Linked DNA regions of Homo sapiens: regions 2, 3 and 4 are each linked to region 1. The links are contacts of gene promoters, found by promoter capture Hi-C in blood cells and fetal thymus (Javierre and others, 2016). All regions are on one chromosome and are shown on one strand. The core of a region is centred on a gene start or on the middle of the fragment in contact, and the rest is flanking DNA. Distances in the headings are between cores, read along the strand shown.

Region 1 (2,700 bases), core at 23-2,522:
GACGCGGGGACGGGGAGGGCAGTGTCCCCTTCATAAACCAGTCTCCTGGGTGAAGCTTCTGGGGCTTGGAGACTGGAGTGTAGGGTGTGTGTGTGTGTGTGTGTGTGTGTGTGTTGCACCTTGACTTCATGGAGGATCTGTGGGAGAGGAGGTGCAAGGTTTCCCTCTCAGAAGCCTGGCGCCCTTAGGTCTTAGCTACGCGGGACGCTTTCCGACAACCCGATCTTTCGCTAGGAGAGATTCGATCCAGGTCTGCGCCGCGAGGCCCCCAGCTCGCCTCTTCCTGCGACCCTAAACTTGGGCTTTGATTCCCCGCCGGTCGCGGTGGTCCGGGCCACCCGGCGGCGGCTGACAGCTGAGCGCAAAGGCGCCGCGGCCAAGGTCCTCGCGGAGCAGCCCGGGATGCGCACGCCGAGGGTTAAGGAGGAGGCCGCCCGGCCTGGAGCTGGGATCGCAGGCTGGGGGCCGGGACACCCGGGCCTCGCCGGGCCGGGGGCAGGGCCGCGGGTCTGACAGCTGCTGCGGCTCGCGCGGACGCGCGCCTCCTGCAGCCCGCCCTCCCCATGCCTGACTTATTACTCTCTGCTCCTCCTCCCTCTGCTGTTCCAAAACACCCTTCGACGCCAGCAAAATACAATGCGCCTCGGCCGCCGTAAACAGCCGGGAGGGAGAGCACACATTCGGCGCGGCGCGGCCGCCGGCTCGGCTCCCACCCCCTTCCCGTTCCTAGAAAATGCCATAAAAGCGGGCAGGGCGCGGGGAGGGCGGCTGCGCGCCCGGCGGCCGGGGCTCCCTTCCCGCGCCGTTTCCCCACGCCTCCCCGCCCGCCCCGCGCGCCCGCTCCCCCCGCAAACTTGCCCCGCCACCCCGCCCAGCGGCGGGGCCCGGGGCCCGGGGCCCGGGACTCACCTCGCCGGAGAACTTTGCGTCCTTTTCCGCCTCCTCTTCCCCGCGTCTTCCCGGCTCGCAGCCCCCTCCCGGCAGCCGGCGAGGTGGGCAGTTCGTGGGTCACCGAAAGCTCGCGGAGGGGACGCGCATCACATGGCAGCTCGTTCCCAGCCCCCCGAGTGCGCCGGGAAGGGGGAGGGGAAGGGGCGAGGGGAGGCCGGGGGGAAAGCGAGAGCGGGGCGGCGGCGGGAGTGGGCAGGCGGGGTGGCGAGGGCGGCGGCCGCTCACGTTAGCGCTGTGCGACCGCAGCCCGGGCGTGCACGGCCGCTGCTGCCGCTGCTGCTGCTGCTGCTGCTGCTGAGGCGGCGGCGGCTCGGCGCTGTTTGCTCCGCGCCGCGCGGCTTGCGCTCTCCCCGGAACGCCCACACTCTCAATCGCTACATTGTTGACATTCGGCGCTGACGTCACCCGCTCCCCATTCACAATAACTTTACGGGAGCCGGGCAGCGCACCTCCCCGGCCGCTGGGGCGCGGTACGCCCGGCGACTAGCGTAAGCCGCTCCGCGAATGGCGCTCCGGGGGCTGGGGCGGGGGGCGGGGGACGGGGGCGGGCGCGCGCGCTCCGCTGGCTCGCGGGAGGGGGCGCGCCTCATGCCGCCGCAGCAGCAGATCTCCCCGCTTTGTGCGGCCGCGCGGCCCGGAGAGCCCCCTCCTCCCGGCCCGGCTGACCGCCCCGCTCGGCCTGGCCTTCCCGGCCACGAAAGACGAGGGTTGGGGGCATAGCAGGGTGAGAGTAGTGGTGAGGGCTGGTGTGGCACGTGGGGAGGGGGCCAGAGCCCTAGGTGCTGCACCTGGGGAAGGAGAGCAGACGTCGGGACCGGGGATCCCAGGGTTAGCTAGCGTTTTCCCGGAAGGGCAAGAAAAGATGCTCCACTGGCCCCCACAAAGCTGACCGGACTCCCTTTTGGGTGGGGACCGGGCGAGTAAAAGCAGCCTTTTGAATGTTGACTTCTCAATCCTTTTCAGGAGGCCCTCCGCCTGCCCTACTGAGCGAACCTTTAAGCCCCCAAGCCAGTGTTTTTGGAAAGAGAGTGGTCAATTTCAGGAGGACATTAAAAGCCAACCTCCCGGGCTTCAGCCCCAGCTCCTACTGCCTTCCAGCCACTCTCCCCTGCCTTTCCTTTCTGCGGCTCTTAGGATGTTGTTGCTGCCCTTAAAGGCCGTCGTGTGAGTGCCCTGTCAGAAGAAAGCTTGGTGGTGGTTAGGATTTTACAGAAGGTAATTAGGATTTAGGCTGAATGTACATTTGCAATAAAATAAGGTTGTGTTAGTGTTGTGCTGGTGCCTGCAACTTTACCTCTTGCCAAGGCCAGAAAATTCTGCCACGTTTCCCTAAACACCTATAACTTGGCCCTCTTGTGTACAGGCAGTATTCCATATTATTACACGTGGTGCTGATTTTTAATGAATATTATAAAAGTTTGGCTCGCTCTACTGAGAGAAGGATCATAAATCCCCCCTGTAAAACGGGCACTGGCGTATGCTGAGGAAGCAGTGAAGCGTCCTGGGAGTCTTGTGATATCATCTAAAGTGTTGCTCTGAACTACCTTCATTTGAGGGCAGAGTTTTGAAAGGCCCCATTTGGAATGTCTGTGTGGAAAGCTAAGTGATGGCTGAAAGCAAGCTGAAGGTGCTGAGCTAATTTTTCTAACAGCACTGCAGAGTCCCTGCGTGGAGGTCTGGCACGGGACTGTGAGATTTTCTCTGCTAACCGACCCGGCCTTCAGATAAGGAAAAGTCCTAGAGCTAGGA
Region 2 (2,700 bases), core at 113-2,612, 920 kb before region 1:
ATGCTTCAGGGCAGTAATCTTGGGCAATAAGGTTTATTTCTAAAGCCAGATGTCAGCGTTTAATTATAACAGTAATAATAAATTATGGCAGCTACATTTATCCAGAGTCTACCAGGTAAAGGCACGTTATGAGCCTAATGATATTTCATCCTCAATACAATCTTGTAAGTATCACTTTCCATGTGTGTGTGGTGTGTGTGTGTGTGTGTGTGTGTGTGTGTGTGTGTGTCTAACAGTTAACAGAGAGAATCCGAGCTGAGTGGGCAAAGGATTTTTAAGCAATGGAAGAGAAAAATGGAGACTAGACTCTCACAAAAGCTGAAAGGCAGAGCGTCAAGCTGTGTAAGGCAGGTCACAGGCAGTGAGTAAAGAGGAAGATGAGCAAAAGCTTTACCTCATCGATTAGATGAGGATGTCAGATACAATACAGATAGCAACACCTTAACATCTTAATAAGATGAACAACTAGTTCACACCTAGTCAGTCTGTACACCACCTGTTCAGCACATTTATAATTATGTAGAATTGTTTCTACATCGGGTAACATAATCAGTTTCCCCCACTCCTTGTTTATTTTATATTAAGTGTATAGGAAGCTCTGTTTTCTAAGAACGGTATGTTAACAGATTTTTTTCAGCAGAGGATCAGGAATCAGATCTGAGTTGAAACTCCAGTTCCAATCCTTACTGATAGTGTGAGCAAGAGTAAGAAATGTAACCACTCTGAACCTCAGTTTTTTCATCTGTAAAGTGAATACACTACAGTTGACCTTAAACAACACAGATTTGAACTGCCTAGGTCCACTTATACATGGATTTTCTTCCGCTTCTGCCACTCCTAAGACAGCAAAATCAACCCCTTCTCTTCCTCCTCCTCAGCCTACTCAATGTGAAGACAATGAGGGTAAAGACCTTTATGATGACCCACTTCCATTTAATAAATAGTAAATATATTCTTTCTTATAATTTCTTCTCTGTAGCTCACTTTATTGTTAAGAATACAGTGCGTAATACATAACATACAAAATGTGTGTTAATCAATCATTCATGTTATTGGTAAGGCTTCCAGTCAACAGTAGACTATTAGTATTAATAGTTAAGTTTGTCAGGGGGGAAATATATGTGGCTTTTTGACTGTTCAAAGGGTTGGTACCCCAACCCCTGTGTTGTTCAAGGGTCAAATGTAATTCCTGCCACATCGAATAGTTGAGAATTAAATGATAACCTGGGCACAGTGGCTCATGCCTATAATCCCAGCTACTCGAGAGGCTGAGGTGAGAGGATCATTTGAGCCCAGGAGTGATCTATCCTGGACAACACAGGGACACCCTATTGCTAAAAAATTGAAATAAATAATAGGAAGCATGCAATGAGATTAGCATAATGCGTGGCATTTGCTCAATAACTGTTATTATTGCATGCTAACTGGTATATTTATTTATAGATTTCAGTCATTTAAGACAAAAATGTTAAAGTTAAGTAAGTAAATGTAAATGCAAAATGCCTGAAAGGTTATGAAGGAAGGATGGCTTGATTGTGGCCTTTAAGAATGTTGTACTTACCCATAAATACAAGAGATGTCAATAACCACATCTATCATATCACAGCAGAGCTCATAGGTTTGCATATCCACCGGAGTACTATCAGTTGCAATATAAATTTTACTGACCACATCAAATAGAAATGCCTTTTCAATTCCAGAATTCTGAAATTTAAAAAAAAAAGTTGCCTTAAAGCAACAGTCAACTTCAGACCATGTCATGACTACACAAAATTGAATGCCATTCTTAATGTAAAATACAAAATGAGCAAAACTCGCTACTAAAAATTTAAATTGTATCATTTTATTACAATTTAAACTTCACTGTCATAAACTTCTCTATACTGGACTTGCATAAGAAATAAAAAGTAGAGGCCGGGCATGGTGGCTCACGCCTGTAATCCCAGCACTTTGGGAGGCCAAGGCGGGCAGATCACCTGAGGCCAGGAGTTCGAAACCAGCCTGACCAACCGGGAGAAACCTGTCTCTACTAAAAATACAAAATTAGCCAGGCGTGGTGGTGCATGCCTGTAATCCCAGCTACTCGGGAGGCTGAGGAAGGAGAACTGCTTGAACCCAGGAGGCGGAGGTAGCGGTGAGCCGAGATGGCGCCATTGCACTCCAGCCTGGGCAACAAGAGCAAAACTCCGTCTCAAAAAAAAAAAAAGAATTCGAATGACCACAAATTATTTATTTTAGGTAACCAAATTGAGCAATATTTCCTAACTCGTAGAGATACATACCTGCAATTAGGAAAAGGCCAAGTAAAAATACTTTTACTGACTGTAAATTTTAAAATAAGCTTAGAAACACTAAACAAACACACTCAAAATTGTGTAGTGACAGAGTAAACGTGAGTATAACCAATAGGTCTGCCTCAATTCAACTCAGCAGCGCCTACCTGGAGCTGGTGATGTGTAGGGTTCATTCAGCACATCACTCATAGCATGTTAAACTTATAAAAAGCTATTCAACAGTTTGCGTCTTATCAATAAAGCCAAGTTTTATGTTCCCTACCTCTGGTGGGGCTCTATTAATATTGAATGATTGCCTACAGGCTTGAATAAACCCTCCAATTATACCAGTGAAGTGCAGGAATGCATCTGAGTAGTTATATTTTATTTTTAGAGACAAGTTCTCGCTCTGATGCCCAGGCTGGAG
Region 3 (2,700 bases), core at 13-2,512, 940 kb before region 1:
ACCCAAGTTACAATTATAGGCAAACTTTGAATGATAACCACATCGTCAACTTCTCAAAAGTAGTCCTGTACTTTTTTCAGCACTAACCAACCAGAAGGTATAGGTATGCCACAATTTGCCTTCTAGCATCTTGTGAGAAAATACTGGAGCCAGTTTAACTTCTTTGGGGAATTCAAGTTGGGTCTAGGTACAGATGCTGGCTGGGCGCGATGGCTCATACCTGTAATCCTAAAACTTTGGGAGGTGGAGGTGGAGGGGAGGATCGCTTGAGGCCAGAAATTCAAGACCAGCCTGGCTAACATGGTGAGACCCTGTCTCTATGCAAAAAAAGGGGGTGGGTACAGATGCTATTAAATAGTAATATATACCATATATGCAGAATGGAAAGCAAAATTTTTCCAAAAATATCATTCCTCAGAAAAGAGAGTCACCTTGTGTTTTTGTCTTTGTCCTTTTTGAACAAAATACTCTTCAGGAAGACAATATGTCGTGAAAGGGTCACAAGTAATGGCAATTTTCTGTCTTATAAAGGTCACCTAGCAAAATCAGGGGAAAAAAGGCAAAGACATATTGATTAATTATTCCTGAGGGTATGACTTTGGATAACAAGTATTGGAGATCATTAAGTAGGCTTTTAAATAATTATTGAACAGAGAAATACAAGAAGTACTTATTTATGGTGATTATGAATATGTAGGAAAAAAACCCTGATGTTTAACAAGTGGTTCTCGAGATGTAGTAAAATCTCCACTGACAGCATTCTACTCAATGTAAGGCATGCTCTACCTTAGATAACTAGGAGGGAACTGTTAGAGGACTCACAATGTTGTTTCAGTGATGATAGAGACCCAGTTGTAAACGATGCATGTGAAGTATTTGAATAAAATTGTTTGAGGAAAAACCAATTTTTCTAAATTAGTACCATTTGCATAATTTGTGCTATTAGATGTAAATGAGTATTTAAATACTGAATCAATAAATGGTTTAAATAGACTTAAAATTATTTACATTCACAAAAGTCTACATTTGAAATATAGGTTAAATAATATAAACTCTTAAAGCTGCATAATCAAGTTGGAAAAAATGCTAACACTTGGGGTGTTGATGTGTATGTAGGTATGGAGGATGCAAGAAAGCTCCCCTAGGTGATTGCAACCCTAATCCCCTACCATTTCCCCTCCCTATCCCTTTAAACAACTACAGAGAAAACAGTGTCTCACAAATTATAAGAATTGTTTAGGGTCCTTATTTAAAAATACAGATTTCTGTATTTCTCCCTGGAGATTCTGATTCAAGAAGACCGGGATGGGGCTGGGAATCTGCATCCTTAAGCACTCTAGATGATTCATAAAATCAGGTAACTTTGGAAAATATGGGCCTAGAGCATTAAATGAAACAGTACTATGTGTATTGGTGGCACCGTTTCTTGCACCTTATAAAGCTAAGTGAATTCCTTCCTCTCCTACGGAGATGGAAAGATACATAGGACTGTCTCCCGCAGTCACCCCCTTTACTGCACTGCTTCCCAGGGAAAAGAAACAAAAGCCTAATTACCAAGGCCACCTTATAAGCAGTCTGGGAGAAGGCCAGAATTAGTTCCAAGTTATTGGCTATCTAGGTGAGGAAAGTTGAGTACTATGGGGCTTAGCTCTCTGCAAAGCCAGAGGGGAGAAAACTGAGTAGCAGCCCTCTTAGGGACTTAGGCAATAATGAAAGCAGAAGGCAAACAAAAGCAGCTTGTAGGAATGGAATTCTCCACGTGGTGATGAGGGTTAGCATGGGACTGAGGTTTAAATTGCTCTATCATAGTTGGCCTTTCATGAGAGGGGGATTGGTTTCATGACTCTCAATTTTGGAAGAATAGAATAACCCTGCTGGCCCCAGGAGCTTATTAGGAAAGATTGAGGAAGCAAGATGGTCAAGGTCTCAGGCAGCTGGACACCAGTTAATGCCCCCACCCTCCTGAGTGTAGTCACTGGATCAGCTCCCTTTCAAAATAGCACAAAAGGGCAAACTCATGGATTCTTTTTTTTTTTTTTTTTTTTTTTGAGACGGAGTCTCGCTCTGTTGCCCAGGCTGGCGCCCAGTGGCGCGATCTCGGCTCACTGCAACCTCTGCTTCCCGGGTTCAAGCGAATCTCCTGCCTCAACCTCCTGAGTAGCTGGGATTATAGGTGCGTGCCACCACTCCTGGCTAATTTTTGTATTTTTAGTAGAGACGGGGTTTCACCATGTTGGTCAGGCTGGTCTTGAACTCCTGACTTTGTGATCCACCCGCCTCGGCCTCCCAAAGTGCTAGGATTACAGGCATGAACCACCACACCCAGCCAAACTCATGGATTCTTGATAACGGATAAGACCAATGTCATCTGAATTAACAAAGGACCCCTTAGGAGTCAGACATGAGCTCATGAGTCACTAAACTCCATGTAACGCTATCATATTATAGTCAAGGATAGAGTCTGTAATAAAAATGATCCTCTCAGGCCTACAACCCCATCAACCCTTCACCCGTAATACAACCCAGCATACAAAAATACCCAAGGATGGCAGTGAAAAGAAAAACCACTTTAGTAAACACTAGAAGGCCATGATCAAATGAAAGAAAAATTCAGGAACTTACTCAGAATTTCCCATTTGTTAAGATCTCTTAATTAACAGAGAAGGAAAAGATTTTAGGTTGGAAAGAAAATCCTTAGAT
Region 4 (2,700 bases), core at 13-2,512, 880 kb before region 1:
TTTAACCTCTCTGGAATACTAAAAGGCTCTCAACTTCCTTACACCTTAAGAAAATGCAGGAAGCCCCCACAAGCTGAACGATTGCTAAAACCCGCTTCTAGAACAGGAAAAAGAGTTTGCTTCACTATTGAAGCAAAGAATTCCCCGCCGCGCGCTCACTCCCGGGCAGGCACTGCCATGTCCAGGTGGTGATACCGAGAGCAGATAAGGTGTCCTGACAACGGTGTTTGCGTGGATCCCGGGAAATCTGCGGCCTCTCGGAGACTCCCACAACAGCTTGGCGAGCATCCCCCCGCCGCCCCGCGGGTCTCCCCAGCCACTACCTGGGTGGGCCCCTCCCGCGGCGACGCGGGGCGAGACTGACACCCGCAGCTGCCGACGACCCTGCCAGTCACGCCGCCGCCGGCTGCCTTTTTTTAGCCACGACATCTGACCCTGGCTTCAACAGCACCGTTCTGGGAGAGAGGTCCCAGGGCGCGCCCGCGGTCCCCTCCCCTCCCCAACCGCCAGACGCTGCGGAGAGCTTGGGGTGAGGGGCGCGGGAGGCACCGGCTCTGAAAGGGGCAGAAGCGCGCGCTCCTCCAGCCCAGACGCTTACTCCCTCCTTCCCCTTTTCCACCGATCCTGGTTGCCCCTCCGCCACCAGCACCGCGCTCCCTCATTTGGCAGCTCGAGGTCGGGCTTTTGGCGTCCCTCCCCACCCCAAACCCTCAACTGGACCCGCTCCCCTGGACCCCCTCCAAGTCGGTGGCTCGCGCACGGCCGGGCTGGGGGCGGGAAGGCGCCAAGGGGAGGAAAGGGGCGCGAGCCGAGGACGCGGGGGCCGGGCGCTCACCTCCCTCCTCTGTGCCGCTGTCCGGATCGGCGTCGGAGGAGTCGGGCCCGTCTCCGTAGTCCGCTAGCCCCACCAGCTCATCCTCCTCCTCCTCCTCCTCCGCGTCGTCCTCGTCCTGCGGCTGCGGCTTCCCCAGCACCTGGCTCATCGTGCCCACCGGCCGGCCGGCCCGGGGACGGCGGGGGTCCCGGGGTGGGGGCCAAGCCTCCTAGCCGGCCGCCCGCAGCCTATTTCTGAAGCGGAGGTTTGTCTAGAGCTCAGCGGGGCCCGGCGGAAGCGGGGGCCGCGCGTCCCCCGGCGGGCGGCGCCCAGGTCCGGGTCCCGCGGTTCCCAGCGCGCCCGAAGCCCCCTCCCCCGCCCCGCCCGCCGGCGGAGGAGTCAGCCGGAGCGCGGCAGTTCCTCCCGGAGGAGGGAGAGAGAGAGAGACTGCGTGACCCGAGTCACCTGACACACACTGTCACATACTCACATACACACCCCGCACGGGCGCGCGCGCGCTCGCCCGGCCGCGGGCACCACTCGGCGGGGCGCTGGGCCGAGGACACACATGCACACGCACACGCACACGCACGAGGAGACCGGGGAGGCGCGGGGCCCCTGCACCCTCCCAGACTCACACCGACACACGCCCCGTACACGGGGCCCCCGGGACGCCGGCCGTCACCCACCGCGGCTGCGCGCCAGGGGCCCCCACGCGCCTCTCCTTCACGTGGTCCCCGCACAGGCAGGGGAGGGGGCGCCGCACACCCTCAATGTCCCCCCCGCCGTCCCACTCCCACACGCCCGCAGAGCGTCTACCGTGGGCGGATGCCTCCTGCTTACAGTCCTGAGCTAGGGTCCCAAGCGGGTGGCCTCCCAACACTGTGGCGCCCAGATCCCCCACCCCAGAGCAGCGTGCCCAGGACACCCTGTGGACGCTCAAGAGCCCCAGGCGGAGAACTCAGATAAATGCACAGTGGAGGCGCAGTCTCCATAGCAATTGTCTTTTAGTGTGCCTTTATGGTTCAAAGTGCTTCCCACCAAGAATATTTAAAAAGCAGGCCTACCCAGACGTAAATGTTTCTGAAGAAATCACATGACTCGTGGCTGCTTAGACTAAATAATTCCTCTGCAGCCCTTTGGAAAAGGTCTCAGTGTATAACACACTCGGGGGCTATTCATGGCCACCTCCTCATGTCTCATTGTTGCATAGACTGTAATCCCACATGAATAAAATATTTCAAGGCTTTTGTGGGAGTAGGGGAGTGGCGGTGGTGGGGGGGCAATTCTCAAATAGGAATAGCAGCAACGTGGAGTGAGACTCTAAAACCTGCATTCCTCCTTCACAAGCTTTTCACCACGGAACACACTGTACCCACCCTTTCTGGGTACTGCAAAAAATTACGTGGATGAACTTCCTTCTGTGGAGCACAATAAGAAAAAACCGGCCGGTCAGCATGATGATCCAGCTCCTACAGGTGCCAGCAGCTCAGCCGGTGGTGCGGTGCAGAAGCGGAGGGAGGAAGCTAGGGCAGGAGACTCTCAGGGCCCAAGGGTGCTAACCTCCATAGGAAACATTTATTAACCACCTCCTATATGCCTGAGGCTGGGCTAAGTAGAGGGTCCAAGAATGCTCAGGGCAGTGTTCCTGCCCTGAAGGAGCTCACAGTCTACCAAATCATGACTCATGTCCTGGATTTTTTTTAGTATTTCTGAGTGCAGAAGGTGGATGCAGACACTTTCCAGAAGGTGGCTGCTTCTAATGGGAAAGGTCCTGAGATTTTCCAAGGGAGGCAGGCAGTATAATTTGGTATGACTGTATCAGTTAAGGTTCTTCCCAGGATGAAACAGACGGTATGTGCAAAGACTTTAACTGAAGCCTTCAA

The links. Contacts are between HindIII fragments. The CHiCAGO score rates a contact against its expected background, and 5 or more counts as called.
Region 2: a contact is called between a fragment that was not itself captured here and the fragment with the promoter of BACH2 in region 1, in 1 of 17 cell types (fetal thymus). The highest score is 6.9, in fetal thymus.
Region 3: a contact is called between a fragment that was not itself captured here and the fragment with the promoter of BACH2 in region 1, in 1 of 17 cell types (fetal thymus). The highest score is 6.7, in fetal thymus.
Region 4: the fragment with the promoter of RRAGD here is called in contact with the fragment with the promoter of BACH2 in region 1 in 1 of 17 cell types (fetal thymus); the score reaches 9.5 in fetal thymus.

The regions. Positions count from the first base shown.
Region 1 is chr6:90,295,571-90,298,270 of GRCh38, forward strand. It overlaps BACH2 (BACH transcriptional regulator 2), which reads right to left and starts at 1,273. Exons shown (of 9, transcript NM_021813.4): 1 at 910-1,273. It overlaps LOC105377891 (a long non-coding RNA gene), which reads left to right and starts at 1,669. Exons shown (of 7, transcript XR_942778.4): 1 at 1,669-2,166. RefSeq lists silencers at 452-511, 1,137-1,186. The HindIII fragment of the contact is 2,083 bases long and covers 54-2,136 here.
Region 2 is chr6:89,376,110-89,378,809 of GRCh38, forward strand. It overlaps RRAGD (Ras related GTP binding D), which reads right to left. Exons shown (of 7, transcript NM_021244.5): 5 at 1,562-1,704. Among named protein-coding and RNA genes, the nearest start is that of UBE2J1, 25 kb to the left of the region's middle. The HindIII fragment of the contact is 1,953 bases long and covers 387-2,339 here.
Region 3 is chr6:89,358,018-89,360,717 of GRCh38, forward strand. No RefSeq gene overlaps it. Among named protein-coding and RNA genes, the nearest start is that of UBE2J1, 6.6 kb to the left of the region's middle. The HindIII fragment of the contact is 6,763 bases long and covers 1-2,700 here.
Region 4 is chr6:89,411,011-89,413,710 of GRCh38, forward strand. RRAGD (Ras related GTP binding D) reads right to left here and starts at 1,263. Exons shown (of 7, transcript NM_021244.5): 1 at 836-1,263. The coding sequence starts at 983. RefSeq lists silencers at 220-319, 350-459, 490-1,679. The HindIII fragment of the contact is 2,415 bases long and covers 1-2,162 here.